5 separate regions of the Homo sapiens genome follow, and regions 1, 2, 4 and 5 are each linked to region 3. Evidence: promoter capture Hi-C in 16 types of primary human blood cells and fetal thymus (Javierre and others, 2016). All regions are on one chromosome and are shown on one strand. Each heading gives the region's core, a stretch centred on a gene start or on the middle of the fragment in contact. The rest is flanking DNA. Distances are from core to core; before and after follow the strand shown. Region 1 has its middle 66 kb from the start of ZNF267. Region 2 has its middle 35 kb from the start of LINC02190. Region 3 holds the start of KRABD5 (KRAB domain containing 5). Region 4 has its middle 71 kb from the start of KRABD5. Region 5 has its middle 39 kb from the start of ZNF267.

What was found. Contacts are between HindIII fragments. The CHiCAGO score rates a contact against its expected background, and 5 or more counts as called.
Region 1: a contact is called between a fragment that was not itself captured here and the fragment with the promoter of KRABD5 in region 3, in 7 of 17 cell types (neutrophils, M2 macrophages, M1 macrophages and 4 more). The highest score is 10.8, in neutrophils.
Region 2: a contact is called between a fragment that was not itself captured here and the fragment with the promoter of KRABD5 in region 3, in 7 of 17 cell types (M1 macrophages, M2 macrophages, neutrophils and 4 more). The highest score is 7.9, in M1 macrophages.
Region 4: a contact is called between a fragment that was not itself captured here and the fragment with the promoter of KRABD5 in region 3, in 1 of 17 cell types (M2 macrophages). The highest score is 5.3, in M2 macrophages.
Region 5: a contact is called between a fragment that was not itself captured here and the fragment with the promoter of KRABD5 in region 3, in 2 of 17 cell types (neutrophils and M0 macrophages). The highest score is 6.9, in neutrophils.

What each region holds. Positions count from the first base shown.
Region 1 is chr16:31,806,466-31,809,654 of GRCh38, reverse strand. It overlaps the pseudogene PPP2CBP1 and the pseudogene VN1R3. Among named protein-coding and RNA genes, the nearest start is that of ZNF267, 66 kb to the left of the region's middle. The HindIII fragment of the contact is 1,605 bases long and covers 515-2,119 here.
Region 2 is chr16:31,586,531-31,589,928 of GRCh38, reverse strand. No RefSeq gene overlaps it. Among named protein-coding and RNA genes, the nearest start is that of LINC02190, 35 kb to the right of the region's middle. The HindIII fragment of the contact is 2,307 bases long and covers 319-2,625 here.
Region 3 is chr16:31,711,614-31,714,947 of GRCh38, reverse strand. It overlaps KRABD5 (KRAB domain containing 5), which reads right to left and starts at 1,704. Exons shown (of 5, transcript NM_001130913.2): 1 at 1,513-1,704. The coding sequence starts at 1,515. RefSeq lists enhancers at 244-293, 1,418-1,537 and a silencer at 1,268-1,327. The HindIII fragment of the contact is 15,701 bases long and covers 1-3,334 here.
Region 4 is chr16:31,782,544-31,785,899 of GRCh38, reverse strand. No RefSeq gene overlaps it. Among named protein-coding and RNA genes, the nearest start is that of KRABD5, 71 kb to the right of the region's middle. The HindIII fragment of the contact is 3,489 bases long and covers 272-3,356 here.
Region 5 is chr16:31,832,798-31,836,002 of GRCh38, reverse strand. No RefSeq gene overlaps it. Among named protein-coding and RNA genes, the nearest start is that of ZNF267, 39 kb to the left of the region's middle. The HindIII fragment of the contact is 6,968 bases long and covers 1-3,205 here.

The DNA.
Region 1 (3,189 bases), core at 68-2,567, 95 kb before region 3:
ATTTTTGTATTCATAAACAAATACTAAATTTATCTGTAATTCATGACAACCTGTTTCTCCTTTGCACTGTTTTATCTCCTACTCATGTCCCTTGACCCCTTGCTTAGCAACAGTCATTTCTGTATCCTTCTTGGTTAAGATGAGAAAGAATCTTCTTTTTTAATTTCAGCATGAAATCATTTAAGCATTCAATAAATATCATTTGGTCTTGTATGATTATTCTTTTAGGATTATACTAAATCAGTGCATCTATATTCTACTTGGATTTCTGAATCATTATAGGTGATATTTGCTCATGAAATAAGCACTTAGATTTAAATGAGAAATTGCCACAATCAAAAATGAAGAAAAAACTACATCCAGGTTTAAAGAAAGCGACAATATATACAACATGAAATGTGTGAAGCATTAAAAAAATACTATGTCCAAGGGTGAGACACACAGTGATTAAACACATTGTCCAATTTTGATTCTGCCTCTTACAAAGCAGTTACTTTAGAAAATTCATTAAGCTTCCTTGTGTAAGATCTTCTTACCTGTAAAATGGAAATAGTAAAGCACTTATACCACAGAATTATTGTAAAAGTTACATGCAAAACACTAATATAGTACTCCTCTCATGGGGATGCATATGTTCTTCTTTTTAGAGCAAAACTCTTATTTAAAAAACAGGGTCTAATAAGAAAATGTCTAAGTTGGAAACAATGGTAAGTGTACAATAGTGGATTTTATTTGCAAAAGTGAAACTTTATGTTTCCACACAGGGTTCTCTCACTTTGAATGTAATTATCAGTCACTGAAAAATGACAAATGGCCTCCAAGGATTTTGCAATAGGCATGATCTTATTATCTCAGATCATGGTCGGATTCCTGGGGAATTTCTTTCTTCTCTACCACTATAGTTTCCTTTGTTTCACCAGAGGTATGTTACAGTCCACAGATCTGATTCTCAAGCACCTGACCATAGCCAACTCCTTGGTTATACTCTCTAAAGGAATCCCACAAACAATGGCTGCTTTTGGGTTGAAAGATTCCCTCAGTGATATTGGATGCAAATTTGTGTTTTATGTTCACAGAGTGGGCAGGGCTGTGTGCACTGAGTGTCTTCCAGGTCATCACCATCAGCCCCAGTGAATTCAGGTGGGCAGAGCTGAAGCTACATGCTCACAAATACATCAGGTCTTTTATCCTGGTCCTGTGCTGGATTCTGAACACGCTGGTAAATATTACTGTTCTTCTACATGTGACTGGCAAGTGGAACAGCATAAATAGCACAAAGACAAATGATTATGGATATTGTTCTGGAGGAAGTAGGAGCAGAATTCCACATTCATTACATATTGTCTTGTTATCATCCCTTGATGTTTTGTGTTTGGGGCTCATGACCTTGGCCAGTGGCTCCATGGTTTTTATCCTGCACAGGCACAAGCAGCAGGTCCAGCACATTCATGGGACCAACCTCTCCGCCAGATCCTCCCCTGAGTCCAGAGTCACCCAAAGCATCCTGGTCCTGGTGAGCACCTTGTGTTACTTTACTCGCTCTCCTCCATCTTTACATATGTCTCTTTTTCCTAATCCCAGTTGGTGGCTGTTGAACACCTCTGCACTGATCACTGCCTGTTTTCCCATGGTCAGCCCCTTTGTGCTCATGAGCCGCCATCCCAGGATACCCAGGCTGGGCTCTGCCTGCTGTGGAAGGAATCCACAGTTTCCTAAGCTGGTCAGATAGTTCTCCGATTTATGTGGATTGTCTTCTTTTTGTATAATGAATGGCCGTTTGTTGATTTCTTCCTGCAGGTTAAGCACCGCAATGGGCAGTCAATTGCAGTGTATATAAGACTCAGAATCCGTCTTTGCCCTTCAAGGATTTTTCACGTATCATAAACAACAGTTACAGATGAAATGTTTTTGCAAAGTGCTTTCATAATTTTCATTTTGTTTGTAATTTCATAATTTTCATTTTGTTAATGTTGCAATGGAGAAGTTAAGAGGCAAATTATTAATTAAAAATGGGCCTCTAATAAGTTGGAACAATGCAACTTTAAACCAATTAATAAAAAATGTCATGGAATTAACTGGGCACAGCAGTGTAAGAAAAGTTTGATGAAATAAAGAAGCTTAAGTAATGATCAATGAAGAAAGTGAGAAGAAAGTCATAGTTCATGTCCTTTTTTGTTTTGAATTAATCTTCATTTTTTCCTATTTTCAAGTTGTAAAATTTTCTTTTTGTCCTTGATAATTATACTTTATTGAGACTAGTTTTGGTTATTTTTTAAAAATTCTGTCCCTCTATAATTTTTCTGATGTGTAGATCCTGTATTCATGCTTCTTATATTTGTTCGTTTAAAATGAAAAGTTTATTTGCTGACTACACCAAATAGGATGCAAGCACTGTCATGACAGAAATATGCAGCAGATCAACATACAACAGTAATTTAGTTTAAATGAAGGGAAATCTGTAAATGTTACGACAACGTACTCCCAAGAAGAACCCTTTCTTCAGTTAAGTTAATTATACATTTCAATAAAATAAAGGGTAATGGATTAGTGGAAGTTAGCTTGTGAATTTTTCTTAAAAATAAAACTCCAACTCTATTAATCCATGCCAGTTAAACACTGTAACTAAAATTTCCAAATAAGCACAAAAGGAGATGAAGCAATTAGTTACCTTTTCTGCTTGAACGGTCTGGAGGAAAATGGTTACTATAAATACAGCAGGCAAACTGTTAGAGTGACCTATCTAGAACATAGTGTACTAAATTTCAGTCTCAAATTGTACTAAATGCTCATCATTAGTATGGCACATTTGGTCCATGATGTGGTTTAACGCCAAGACAGATCCCAATTTGTTACAGAAACACATAGATTACTGTTGCTTTTTGTTTTTAAATACATATATTTTAATAAGCCAGGTATACTTCCACATACAAAGGCAGGTTTCCCAGGAGAAATTTATAGGAAGTAGTCTGGGGTGTGCTGTGTAACATGAGGCTCGCCACAACAAAGTGCTGGGTCAAACTGAAGGAAGGAATATCTTAAAGCGTCATCTAGTTCCATGATCGCAGCCTGGTTACCACAACAATAACAGTAATTGGGTGCACTGAAAATAGTAACCACATTCTGATCATGACACCAATGGTATCCCTCCATTACAAGCTGGTGGGCACGAGAAACCAGTGTGAGACCATT
Region 2 (3,398 bases), core at 223-2,722, 120 kb after region 3:
GGCGCTATCTCAACTCACCACAACCTCTGCCTCGCAGGTTGAAGCGATTCTCCTGCCTCAGCCTCCCAAGTAGCTGGGATTACAGGCATGTGCCACCATGCCCAGATAATTTTGTATTTTTAGTAGAGAAGGGGTTTCTCCATGTTGGTCAGGCTGGTCTCGAACTCCTGACCTCAGGTGATCTGCCCGCCTCCTCCTCCCAAAGTGCTGGGATTACAGGTGTGAGCCACCGTGCCCCGCTGAATTTTGTTATTACTTTAAGGATTGTGTTTGTGGTTTTTCTTTGCTTTGCATATATATGTGGATTTTGAGAAAGCTTGTCAATTTCTACAAAAACCATAGAAACTATAGTTGAAATTTGAAGGGACTCCATTTAATTTGTAGGTCAATTTTTGGGGTATTCTTTACAATATTATCATTTAACATAGGATGTCTTTGCATTTATTCAGCTCTTTGATTTGTTTTAGCATAAGGAAATCTTCCAGTGTAAAGTCCTTGCACTTGTTTTGTTAAATTTATCCGTGGGAGGGAGGGGTCATGATAGCTGACTAGAAACAGCTGCAGTTGAAGTTTCCCACTGAGAAGAATGAAAACTGCAAGTGAATCCTGCACCAGCACTGAGATACCCAGGTTCTCTCAATGAGACTGACTAGACAGTTGACATGACCCACAGAGAGTGAGGAAAAGTGGGGCAATGCCATGGCCCACCTGAGAACCACACAGGGTAACGGGAGTGCCCAACCCCATCCAAGGGAGGCGGTGAGTGATCCTTCTACCCTGCCTGGGAAACCATTGCTTTTTCCACAGATCTGTACAACCTACAGATCAAGAGATCCCTCTCATGAGCCCACGCCACGAGTTCCTTGGGTTCCAAGCACAGAGCTGTACAGATTCTCAGCAGCCACTTGGCTGGAGACTACCTAAGACTACCTAGTTCTCAGAGAGAGGGGTGGCCATTATCACTGCAGCTGCCTGCTGCCTAAGATGACTGAGCTCCCGGGGGGAGGGGTGGCAGCCATCACTGCAGCTCCAGACTGCCATGTTTTCCCTGCTGGTGCCAGGGAGACTAGACAGTTTGGACCCAGAAGGAATTCCCCACAGTGCAGCACAGCAGCTGTGGCAGATTGTGGCCAGACTGCCTCTTTAGGCCAGACCCTGACCCAGTGCTCCTCACTGAGGGGGAGGAGCCTCCCTAAAGGAATTTTAGCAACTCCAGCCAGGGGTTTAGGGACAGAACTCTGATCCCCCGGGACTGAACGCCTGAGGGGAGGGACAGCCACAGTCTCTTTGGATCAGCCTTATCCGCCTGCTTGTTCTGAGGAATTCAGGCAGTCCAGATGAGTGGGATTCCCCTCAGTGCAGCACACTGACTCTGCCAAGGGGCAGCCAGAATGCTTCGTTAAGTGGGTCCCAGATCCCAACCCTCCTGACTGGATGAGACCACTCCCAACAGAAATTGCCAGACACCTTATATAGGAGAGTTCTTGCTGGCATCAGGTCAGTGCCCCTCTGGGACAGAGATCCCAGAGGGAAGGAGCAGGCAGCTATCTTTACTGTTCTGCAGCCTCCACTGATGACACCTCCAGGTGTGGGAGGAATCCAGGCAAAAGGGTCTGGAGTGGACCCCCAGCAAAACACAGCTGCCCTGTGGAAGAGGGCCCTGACTGTTAAAAGAAAAACAAACAAACAGAAAGCAACAACAATAGCATCAACAAAAAAGTCACCATAAATACCCTGTACAAAGGTCAGGACCCTCAAAGATTGAAGGCAGATAAACTCATGAAGATGAGAAAGAACAAAAATCTCTAAAAACTCAAAAAGCCAGAGGGCCTCTTCTCCCCCACATGATCACAACACCTCTCCAGCAAGGACAAGCAGCTGGGTGGAGGCTGAGATGGATGAATGTACAGAAATAGGCTTCAGGAGGCAGGTAATAGTGAACTTCGCTGAGATAAAGGAGTGTGTTCTAACCCAATGCAAACAAGCTAAGAACCATGATAAATCATAAGGAACCGTTAAACAGAGCAACCAGTTTAGAGAGGAACATAAAAGACCTGATGGACAACACGAGAATGTCAAAATGCAACCACAAGTATCACTAACCACATAGACCAGGCAGAGGGAAGAATTTCAGAGCTTGAAACCTATCTTGCTGAAACAAGATAAGGTTAGAGAAAAAAGAAAGAAAAGGAATGAACAAAACCTAACTATGGAATTATGTAAAAAGACCAAACCTACAACTAATTGGGGTACCTGAAAGCGATGGGGAGAATGGAACCAAGTTGGAGAACATAATTCAGGATATCATCCAGGAGAACTTCCCCAACTCAACAAGACAAGCCAACATTTGAATTCAGAAAATCTAGAGAACTGCAGTAAGATAGCCCATGAGAAGATCAATCCCAAGATACATACTCATCAGATTCTCCAAGGTCAAAATGAAGGAAAAAATGTTAAGGGCAGCCAGAGAAAAAGGTCAGGTCACCTACAAAGGGAAGGCCATTTGACTAATAGCAAACATCTCAGCAGAAACACTGCAAGCCATAAGAGATTGGGGGTCAATGTTCAACATTCTTAAAGAAAAGAATTTTAAATTGAGAATTTAGTATCCAGCCAAACTAAGCTTCATAAGCAAAGGAGAAATAAAATCTTTTTCAGACAAGCAAATGCTGAGGGAATTTGTCACCACTAGGCTTGTCTTGCAAGAGCCCCTGAAGGAAGCACTAAATATGGAAAGGAAAAACTATTACTAGCCACTGCAAAAACACATGGAACTACAAAGACCAATGACACTAAGAAGCAACTATGTCAACAGGTCTGCAAAATAACCAGCTGACATCATTTGACAGGATCAAATTCAAACATAACAATATTAACCTTAAGTGTAAATGGCCTGAATGCCCCAATTTAAAGACACACAATGGCGAGCTGGATAGAGTCAATCAAGATCCATCAGTGTGCTGTATTCAAGAGACAAATCTCACCGTGAAGACACATATAGGCTCAAAATAAAGGGATGGAGGAAAATTTACCAAGCAAATGGAAAGCAGAAAAAAGCAGGGGTTGCAATCCTAGTTTCTGACAAAACAGGCCTTAAACCAACAAAGATCAAAGAAGATAATGAGGACATTACATAATGGTAAAGGAATCAATTCAACAGGAAAAGCTAACTATCCTAAATATATGTGCACTCAATATAGGAGCACCTGGATTTATAAAACAACTTATTAGAGACTTAAAAGAGATGTAGACGCCCACACAATAATAGTTGGAGACTTTAACACCCCACTGTCAGTATTAGACAGATCAAGACAGAAAATCAACAAGAATATTCAGGACTTGAACTCAACTTTGGATCAAGTGGACCTGATAGATATCTACAGAACTTTCAATGCAAA
Region 3 (3,334 bases), core at 455-2,954:
CCTCTTGCAATACTCCTTTACAATTAAGGCACTTCTTACCTATATCCAGATGTTTTATTTGACCAAGTCAAGAAACAGCCCCAGGACACTAACAATTCCACCCTCAGAAAGAGCTTCCCAATCTCCCTTCCAGCCCAACCTCGACCACATCCGCCTGTGAATCCCCTGCTTTCCAGAACTCTGCAGCTTCTCCCAGTAACAAAGGGCTCCCTCCATGGCTGCTGTGAACCTCAGGGACACCTGAAGGGGGCGCTCCCCAGGAAGAACTAACTGGGCCTTCAATGACCTCCTTTTGCAGGCTCAAATAAGACTGAGGTCTTCTATGCCTAGTCAGGGTTATTCCACACACCCGCTTCTCAATTCGCAGGCTCTCTCTTTCAGGTCCATCGAGGTGGGGTGCCTTCTTCCCATCTCATCAGCTCTCCACAAGCATCTAGCGAGCTCTAAAACCTACCCCAGGATAGCAAACGTCAGACCTTCCTCCACTCTCCTGGCACTGCACGCCTTCTGGGGAGTGCTGCCAATCCTACCTCAACTGAAGGGACAGGAGCAGGTGCCCAGCCAGTCAGATGTTCAGTGACCTAACAGGTTTCAGGAAAATAGCAAAATCACTCAAAACAGTTTTTATAGAAAGGAAGGAAACTGTAAGGCACTTACACTTTATACTTCAACAGGTAAGGCCAAAATACCTCTTTCGAGCAAGAAACATGTCATTTAATTATTTCCATAATAGCAGATCATTTAGTATATGTGAACACTTCTAGGAGGTGCCAAGTCCTGTCTCATAACATTTGGCATTAAAGTCGGACATCCAGATAGCAGTAGAATATGGAACACAGATATCCACTGTCACAAATCCTCCACTGCAAAAGAGAGGACCTGATATTTTAATGAATGTTTGTAATTGACCAATTAATCTAGCACACTTTCTGTGGAAATGTATTCGTTTTCTACAGCCAAAGTGGAAGAGAGATTGTCCCTATTTCTTTTCCCCAGCAGCATTCCTAAGCTGAGCCCTGGGATTTTGAAATCGCTGCTCCAGAGGACCCTAAACCACAAACCACGGCGGCAGGCTTCCCATTTCACCAATCGCTGTTTACCTAAATCAACCCTTTAACGCTTTAAGGGTGACTCCCCTTAATTTGTAAGAGGAAAAAGGAGACTGGGACACCACGGGGCACAGTATCTTCCCACACACGAATCACACGCCGACCCGGGATTTCCCCTAAGACCCTCACGTTCTCACCGCACAATCTCGGGAGACGCCGGGCTGCGGCGACCCAAAGACGGCTCCGGCCATGGCAGAGGTCGCTCTGCGGGGTCGGGAGGGGACCGGACGCGCGGGGTCCCGGCTGCCGGCCCGGCCGCCATCTTGCGGCGGAGGGGACCAAGGGCCGAGTTGCGTCCGCGGGGACTCAGGGCCCAGACCCCGAAGCTAACCTCAAAGAGGGTTCCCGCCGCTTCCGACCGCCCCTCTCCCTCTTCTGGGGACCCCCGACCTGGCACATTCACCATTTCCCAGCTTCCGGGATGTCCTGGCGTCTGAGCTACGGATCTCCCGGTGCCTGCCGGTCACAGAGTAACAGAGGTTCTGTCTATTCTCAGAACGCGAAGCCGCCTTGGCCTCCCAGATGGAAGGACTGGGAGCCCCTGGTGAAGAGACTGAGCTCTTACTGCAGCCAACAAAGGCCACCGCCAAATCCCGGAAGCCGCCCCTGCTCTCCGGCTACTCCCGATTGGAGGATTTCCACTCCGACGCCACTGATTGGGTAAAGCTCCAGGCCCCGCCCTCTCACTCGTTCTGCTTTTTGAATGGGAGACAGGCTCATTGAGGTGGGGCCACCTGCTGAGGGTATTACAGCTAATTTAAGGGGTGAGCTTGGACTTGAAATGCACTTGCTTTCCCGTACCTGGTTTTGCTTGTATAAGGCATCTTATTAGCTAATTAAGTTTAAGAAGGAGGGCATTTGGGCACCTTTAAAACAACTTTTTAACCGTTCTAATAACACAGGAAAGACCCTCATCCCATCCTTAGCACCTCTCATCACACGGTACCCCACTGCTCAGGACATAACTGTGGGACTGCAGAGGAAACTGCTGGGGTTTTTGGGGAGCATGCAGGAGGCTTCAACAGCCAAGGTAACGGTGGCTTCCCTTGGGTGTCACTTAAAATCTTGGGGTCAGGGACATCTTTTATCCAGTTGGCTCAGGGAAACTAACAGACAGGAGGATTGTAATTTTTTTTTTCTTTTCTGAATTTCCAAGACATAAAGGACTATCCAAGCATCCCAAAAGGCATTCAATTATACATAAGGCTGAGGGCCTCCCTGCTCTGGAGAGGGATGGCCTGGCAGCCACCAGCTGCAGTGAGCTGAGATAGTGCCACTGCAATGGGCCTTAAACTTGCCCTCTTGTAGACAGGCCACCTCCACACACCCGCTTCTCACATCGCAGGCTCTAACCCTCCGGTCCATCAAGGTGGGCTGCCTTCTTCCCATGTCATTAGCTCTCCACAAGCATCTAGTTAGCTCTAAAACCTACCACAGGATAGCAAACGTCAGACCCTCCTCCACTCTCCCGGCACTGCACGCCTTCTGGGGAGTGCTGCCAATCCCACCTCAACTGAAGGGACAAATCTGGGCAGGTGCCCAGTCAGATGTTCAGTGACCTAACAGGTCCAGCATGCCCAGGGCCTGACCCCACAGCCTAGCACCCCTCCCCCACCTGGCCTTCAATCCAGCCTTTCTTCTCCAATGACGGGATGTTCACCTGTGCCACAATCCCATTAGTCTAGTGACGAGGCCAGGTAAATCCCAGCTGAGTGCCTGTGACTCCACCCTCTTACTTCCCACTCAGGTGACATTACAAGCATAACCTTGAATTTGAGCTAATTTATACATATTCCTCTCCTAGTAACCTGTTTGACAACAGCCCTCACAATCCAGAGACTGGGGCAGCAGGTTCCAAAACCTCACTTTATTCCAATGTGAAATGAAGACATGATGGTTTAAAAATGAGAAAAAGTTCCTGATAAGCTGTGGGGGTGCTTCACTTGCCAGCTCATGCCCATTCCCTCTGAAACAAGGTGTCTGTTACCCATAAACAACTCTCTGTAAAGCCCCAGGTAGAGGTCACAGCTGGACGTGGCTCCCTCAGGCTCACAGGGTAGCAATCTCCTCCCCCAGTCCAGGCTTCCACAGCAGGCACGGACAGGTGCAGAGAGGGAGTGGCCATGGCCTGTGGGGTCCCCTGCCACCCTCAGAGCTAGTCTCTGCAGAAGGTGCTGTGTGGTAAGCAGCAGGGCTCCACAGAGAGGTGACAACCCTTCCTGTGT
Region 4 (3,356 bases), core at 767-3,266, 71 kb before region 3:
ATGACACTCTCCCTATTCAACAATGGTGCTGGGAAAATTGGATAGCCATATGCAGAAGAATAAAACTGGACCTAGACCTCTGACCATATAGAAAAATTAACTCAAGATGGATTAAAGATCTAAACATAAGACCTGAAACTATAAAAATTCTGGAAGAAAGAAAACTTAGGAAAAACTTTTCTAGACATTGGCCTAGGCAAAGAATTTATGACAAAGTCCTCAAAAGCAAACACAAGAAAAACAGAAGTAGACTCAATTAAACTAAAAAGCTTCTGTACAGCAAAAGAAATAACAGAGTAAACAGACAACCTACAGAACAGAAGAAAATATTTGCAAACTATGCATATGACAAAGGGCTGACATCCAGAATTTACAAGGAACTCAAAACAACTCAATAAGAGGAAAACAAGTGACCCCATTACAAAGTGGGCAAAGAACATAACAGAGAGACATTTTCCAAAACAACATATGCCAGTGGCCAATAAACATATGAAAAGATCCTAAACATCATTAATCATCAGAGAAATACAAATGAAAACCACAATGAGATACCAACTTACATGAGTCAGAATGGCTATTATCAAAACGTCTAAAAGCAACAGATGTTGGTGAGGCTACAGGGATAAGGGAACGCTTATACCCTGTTGGTGGGAATGTAAATTAGTACCTTTATGGAAAACAGTATGGAGAGTTCTTAAAGAACTAAAAATAGAACTACCATTAGCTGCAGCAATCCCACTATTAGGTATATACCCAAAGAGAGATAAATCACTATATTAAAACAAAATCTGCATTCTTATGTTTATTTACAGTGCTATTCACAATAGTCAAGATATGAAAGCAACCTAAGTGTTCATCAACAGATGAATGTATAAATAATGTGGGACATGTACACAATGGGCTATTCAGCTGTAAAAAAGAATAAGATTCTGTCATTTGCAACAACATGTATGGAACTGGAAGTCATCATATTAGGCAAAATAAGCCACGTGCCGAAAGACAAACTTTGCAGGTTCTCACTTACTTGTGGCAGCTAAAAATTAAAGCAATTGAACTCATGGAGACAGAGTAGAATGGTGTTTACCAGAGGCTGAGAATGATATGCACCCCTAGCCCATAATCCACTGATGGTTACCAGTGGGTGGGAGAGTGGGAATAATTGATGCATACAAAAAAATAGAATTAAGATATAGTATTTACTAGCACAAGAGGGTGATTGTAGTCAAAATTAATGTAATTGTACATTTAAAAATAACTACAAGAGTATAATTGAATTGTTTATAACACAAGGAAGAAATGCTTGAGGTGATGAATCCCCATTTACCCTGATGTGATTATTACACATTGTATGTCGGTATCAAAATATTTCGTATACCTCACAGACATATAAACCTACTATGTTACCCAAAAAATTAAAAATAAAAAAATTAAAATGTGGTACACATGTACCACAAAATACTCAGCAATAAAAAATAGAAATCATGTATTTCACAGCAACATGGATGAAACTGGAAGCCATTTTCCTTAGTGAAATAACTCAAGAAGAGAACATTCAATACTGTTTGATCTCATAAGTAGGAGCTAAACAATGGGCACTTATTGACTTATAGAGTGAAATAACAGTCCCTGGAGTCCACGAAAGGTTGGAGGGTGGAAGGAGGGTGAGGGGTGAAAAACGATTCAGCAGAAATTTCACTATTCAGGTGATGAGTATGCTAAAAGCCCAGACATCACCACTATGCAATGTATGCATGTAAGAAACTGGCACTTGTGGCTGGGCCCGGTGGCTCATGCCTGTAATCCCAGCACTTTGGGAGGCCATGGTGGGTGGATCACCTGAGGTCAGAAGTTCGAGACCAGCCTGACCAATATGATGAAACCCCATCTCTACTAAAAATACAAAAATTAGCCAGGCATGGTGGCATGTGCCTGTAGTCCCAGGCTGAGACAAGAGAATCGCTTGAACCCGGGAGGCGGAGGTTGCGGTAAGCCGAGATCACACCATTGCACTCCAGCCTTGGTGACAGAGTGAGACTCCATCTCAAAAAAAAACCAAAAAAACACAAAAAACTAAACCTCTGCTAGGGCAATACGGGAGGAAAATGTGGAATCGGAGCCTTCAAACAGAGTGCCCACTGGGGCATTGCCTAGTGGAGCTGTGAGAATAGTGCCACCATCCTCAAGATCCCAGAAATGGTAGATCCATGGACAGCTTGCACCCTACACCTGGAAAAGCCACAGGCACTCAATGACGGCTTGTGAAAGCAGCCAGGAGGGGGGGCTATACCCTGCAAAGCCAAAGGGGTGGAGCTGCCCAAAGCCATGGGAACTCGTCTCTTGCATTAGTGTGACCTGGATGAGAGACACGGAGTAAAAGGAGATCATTTTGGAGCTTTAAGATTTCACTGCCCTGCTGGATTTCAGACTTGCATGGGGCCTGTAGCCTCTTCATTTTGGCCAATTTCATTCACTTGAAATGGGTGTATTTACCCAATGCCCGTACCCCCGCTGTATCTAGGAAGTAACTAACTTGTTTTTGAATTTACAGGCTCATGGGTGAAAGGGACTTGCCTTGTCCCAGATGAGACTTTGGACTTGGACTTTTGCATTAATGCTGGAATGAGTTAAAACTTTGGGGGACTGCTGGGAAGGCATGATTGTGTTTTGAAATGTGAGGACATGAGATTTGGGAGGGGCCAAGGGCATAATGATATGGTTTGGCTGTGTCCCCACCCAAATCTCATCTTGATTGTAGTTCCCATAATCCCCATGTGTTGTGGGAGTGACCCAGTGGGAGGTAATTGAATCATGGGGTCGGTTACCTCCATGCTCTTCTCATGATAGAGAGTGAGTTCTCACAAGATCTGATGGTTTTGTAAGGAGCTTTCCCCCCTTCATTCCACACTTCTCTATCCTGCCATCATGTGTAGAAGGACGTGTTTGTTTTTTCTTCCACTATGATTTTAAGTATCATGAGGCCTCCCCAGCCTTGTGGAACTGAATCAATTAAAGCTCCTTCCTTTATAAATTAACCAGTCTTGGGAATTTCTTCATAGAAGCATGAGAATTGACTAATACATTTTAATAGATACTTTCTATTGTAACTTAGAGTGTTCAGAAAATATGACATTACATTCCTATCGTTAATTCAATAACAATTTTCCGGCCTAAAGCATACCTTTGTCAGATTTTCCTTTTAAAAATGCACATCCTCTGTTTACTGGTTGAAATGCTGCTGGTTTATTTCTATGACAACTTAGTCAAATTTCTAACAAAATTATGTAACATTCTTTATATTCATTTATTAATTGTACACCAAAAGTCAACTTTTATGATTGCCTTACTGTCACCTGGTA
Region 5 (3,205 bases), core at 344-2,843, 120 kb before region 3:
GCATATAGTGATTGATAGATAGATAGATAAGTAGGGGTCCAGTTTCATTTTTGTGTATATGGCAATCTATTTTCCCAGCACCATTTATTGAATAGGGTGTCCTTTCCTCAGTGTATTTTCTTGCCAACTTTGTCAAAGATCAGTTGGTTATAACATGTGGTTTTATTTCTGAGCTCTCTATTCTGTTCCATTGATCTGTGTGTTTATTTTCATACCAGTACCATGCTGTTTTGGTTACCTTAGCCTTATGGTATAATTTGAAGTCAGGCAATGTGATGTGCCCAGCTTTGTTCTTTTTGCTTAGGATTGCTTTGATTACTTTGACTCTTTTTGGTTTCATATGAGTTTTAGTATTGTTTCTTCTAATTCTGTGAAAAATGACATTGGTAGTTTGATAGGAATTGCATTGAGTCTGTAGGTCGCTTTGGGCAGTTTGGTCATTTTGCCTCTATAAATTTTTCTAATTCACAAGCATGGGATTTTTTCCATTTGTTTATGTCAGCTACAATTGCTGTCATCAGTGTTTTGTAGTTTTCCTTCTAGAGATCTTTCACCTCCTCAGTTATGTATGTTCCTAGTATTTTATTATTTTTTGTACCTATTGGAAATGGGATTGCCTTCTTGATTTGATTATCAGCTTGATCGTTATTGGTGTATAGAAATGCTGCTGATTTTTGTATATTGATTTTGTATTCTGAAACTACTGAATTCATTTATCAAATCTAAGAGTTTCTTTGGTGGAGTCTTCAGGTTTTTCTAGATATAAGGTTATATAATCAAAGAATGGGGATAATTTGACTTCTTTTCCAATTTGAATGCCTTTAATTTTTTTCTCTTGTTTGATTACTCTAACTAGGACTTCCAGTACCATGTTGAATGTGTACTGGAATTTTTATATTTTCCCTAAGCTATCCAATTGGTTGGTATACAGATGTTTATAATAGTCCCTTATGATTCTTTTTATATCTGATACATTACTAGTGGAGATAATGTCTCCACTTTCATTTCTGATTTTATTTATTTATGTCTTGTCTATTTTTTCTTTATTAGTCTTGGTAAGTGTTTGTTGATTTTAGTTTTTTAAAAAACAACCCAGTTTTGTTCATTTTTCTATAGCTTTTCCATTCTCTATTTGGTTTGTTTCTGTTTTGATCTTTGTCATTTCCTTCTGCTAATTTTTTTTTTAGTTCTTTGGGGTGTAATGTTACGTTGTCATTTTGATATCTTTCTCTTTTTAAATGTAGGCATTTATCTCCATAAACTTCCCTCTTATCACTGCTTTCATGGCATACTTTGAGTTTTGATATGTATGTTTTCACTTTTGTTCACCACTAGATATTTCAATTCCCTTTTATTTCCGCTCTGAATCAGTAGTTGTTTAAGCACGTGTTACTTAGTCTCCACATATTTGTGAATTATCTTATTTCTTGCTATTATTGATTTCCAGTTTTATACCATTTTGGTCAGAAAAGTACTTGGTGCTACGGTTTGAATGTGTCCCTCAAGAAGCATGTGTTAGAAACTTAATCCCCAATGCAACAGTGTTGGGAGGTGGGGCCTAACGAAAGGTAATTAGGTCATGAGGACTCCACTGTCATGAATGGATTAAAGCTGTTAGCATGGAAACGAGTTCCTTATGTGAGGATGAATTCAGTCCTCCTTTTTCTCTCTTTTTCTCTCTGTCTCTCTCACACATGACTGTGTGTACTCTTTTTTTAATTTATTTTATTTTATTTATTTATTTTTTGAGACAAGGTCTTGCTCTGTCACCCAGGTTGAAGTGCAGTGGTGTGATCTTGGCTACTGCACCTTCAACCTCCTGGACTCAAGTGATCCTCCTGTCTCAGCCCCCCAAGTAGCTGAGACTACAGGTGGGTGCCACCATGCCTGGCTAATTTTTATATTTTTTGAAGAGACAGGGTTTCCCCATGTTGCCCAGGCTGGCCTCAAACACCTGAACTCAAGGGATCCACCCATCTTGGCCTCCGAAAGTGCTGAGATTACAGGTATGAGCCACCATGCCTGGCCCATGTGTGTAGTCTCTTTTCTTTCTGCCTTTCACCATGGAATAGCATGGAAAGAACACCCTTACCATATACTGGTGCCTTTATCTTGGACTTCCCAGATCCAGACTGTGAGAAAATAAATTTCTGTTCTTTATAAATTACCCAGTCTCAGGCATTCTGTTATAGTAGCATGAAACAGACTAAGACATTTGATATAATTTCAATCCTCTTAACCCTTTTCCCATTTAGAAAAAAAAAAGTGCAGGTCACTTCCAGCGCTCATTTAATTTTACATAAACATGCTCTTTGAGACTGAAGCAAATCTGACTGATTTTCAATGTCAAAATAAAATATAAAAACTATTCTTGGAGTTATTTCTAAACAGAACTAACATCAGAATCATCTGAATCATCAGAATAATCTATTTTAGAAAAATAGGATACATCAAATGAATCTTTGATCAACAACTGTTCAAGAATGATGTTAACATCCACATAGGAATGCTACGGTTTCTAGGATTTGACATTTTCAGTGATCGAGAATTACTATATTTTGTAAATGGAAATACCACTACTAAAAACAGAATGCCATAAATAGAATGATATCTTTTGTTTCCAAAGTTGATATACTACAGCGATGAGAAAATAATAATAAAAGCAAGATATTTTGTGGCAAAGTTATCTCTGGGTAAACACTGCAGCCGCAAGCACCACCAGAGAGTATTCTCAGGACAAATAGGAAAAGGGGAAGTCTGTTAAGACATTATTTGTGACCTAACACGTGATCTATCCTGGAGAATGTTGCATGTGTGCTTGAGAAGAATGTGTATTCTTCTGCTGTTGGGTGAAAATTTTGTATATGTCTGTTAAGTTTATTTGGTGTATAGTGTTATTCATGCTTCCTGTTTCTTTATTAATTTTTTGTCTAGATTTTCTACCTACTATTGTATCCAAAGTGGGATATTGAAGTCAGTCTCCTACGATTATCATATTGCTGTCAATTTACCTTTTCATATCTGTCAATATTTGCTTTATATAATTAGGTGCTCTGATGTGTGGTGCACATATATTAATGATTTTTATAACTTCCTGTTGAATTGACCCTTTTATTATAATATAATGACCTTCCTGTAAAGGTTTGCAGAGGTCTCACAATCTCCTTCCATGGAGGATCTGAAGATCTGAATTTTCGGCTGTAGT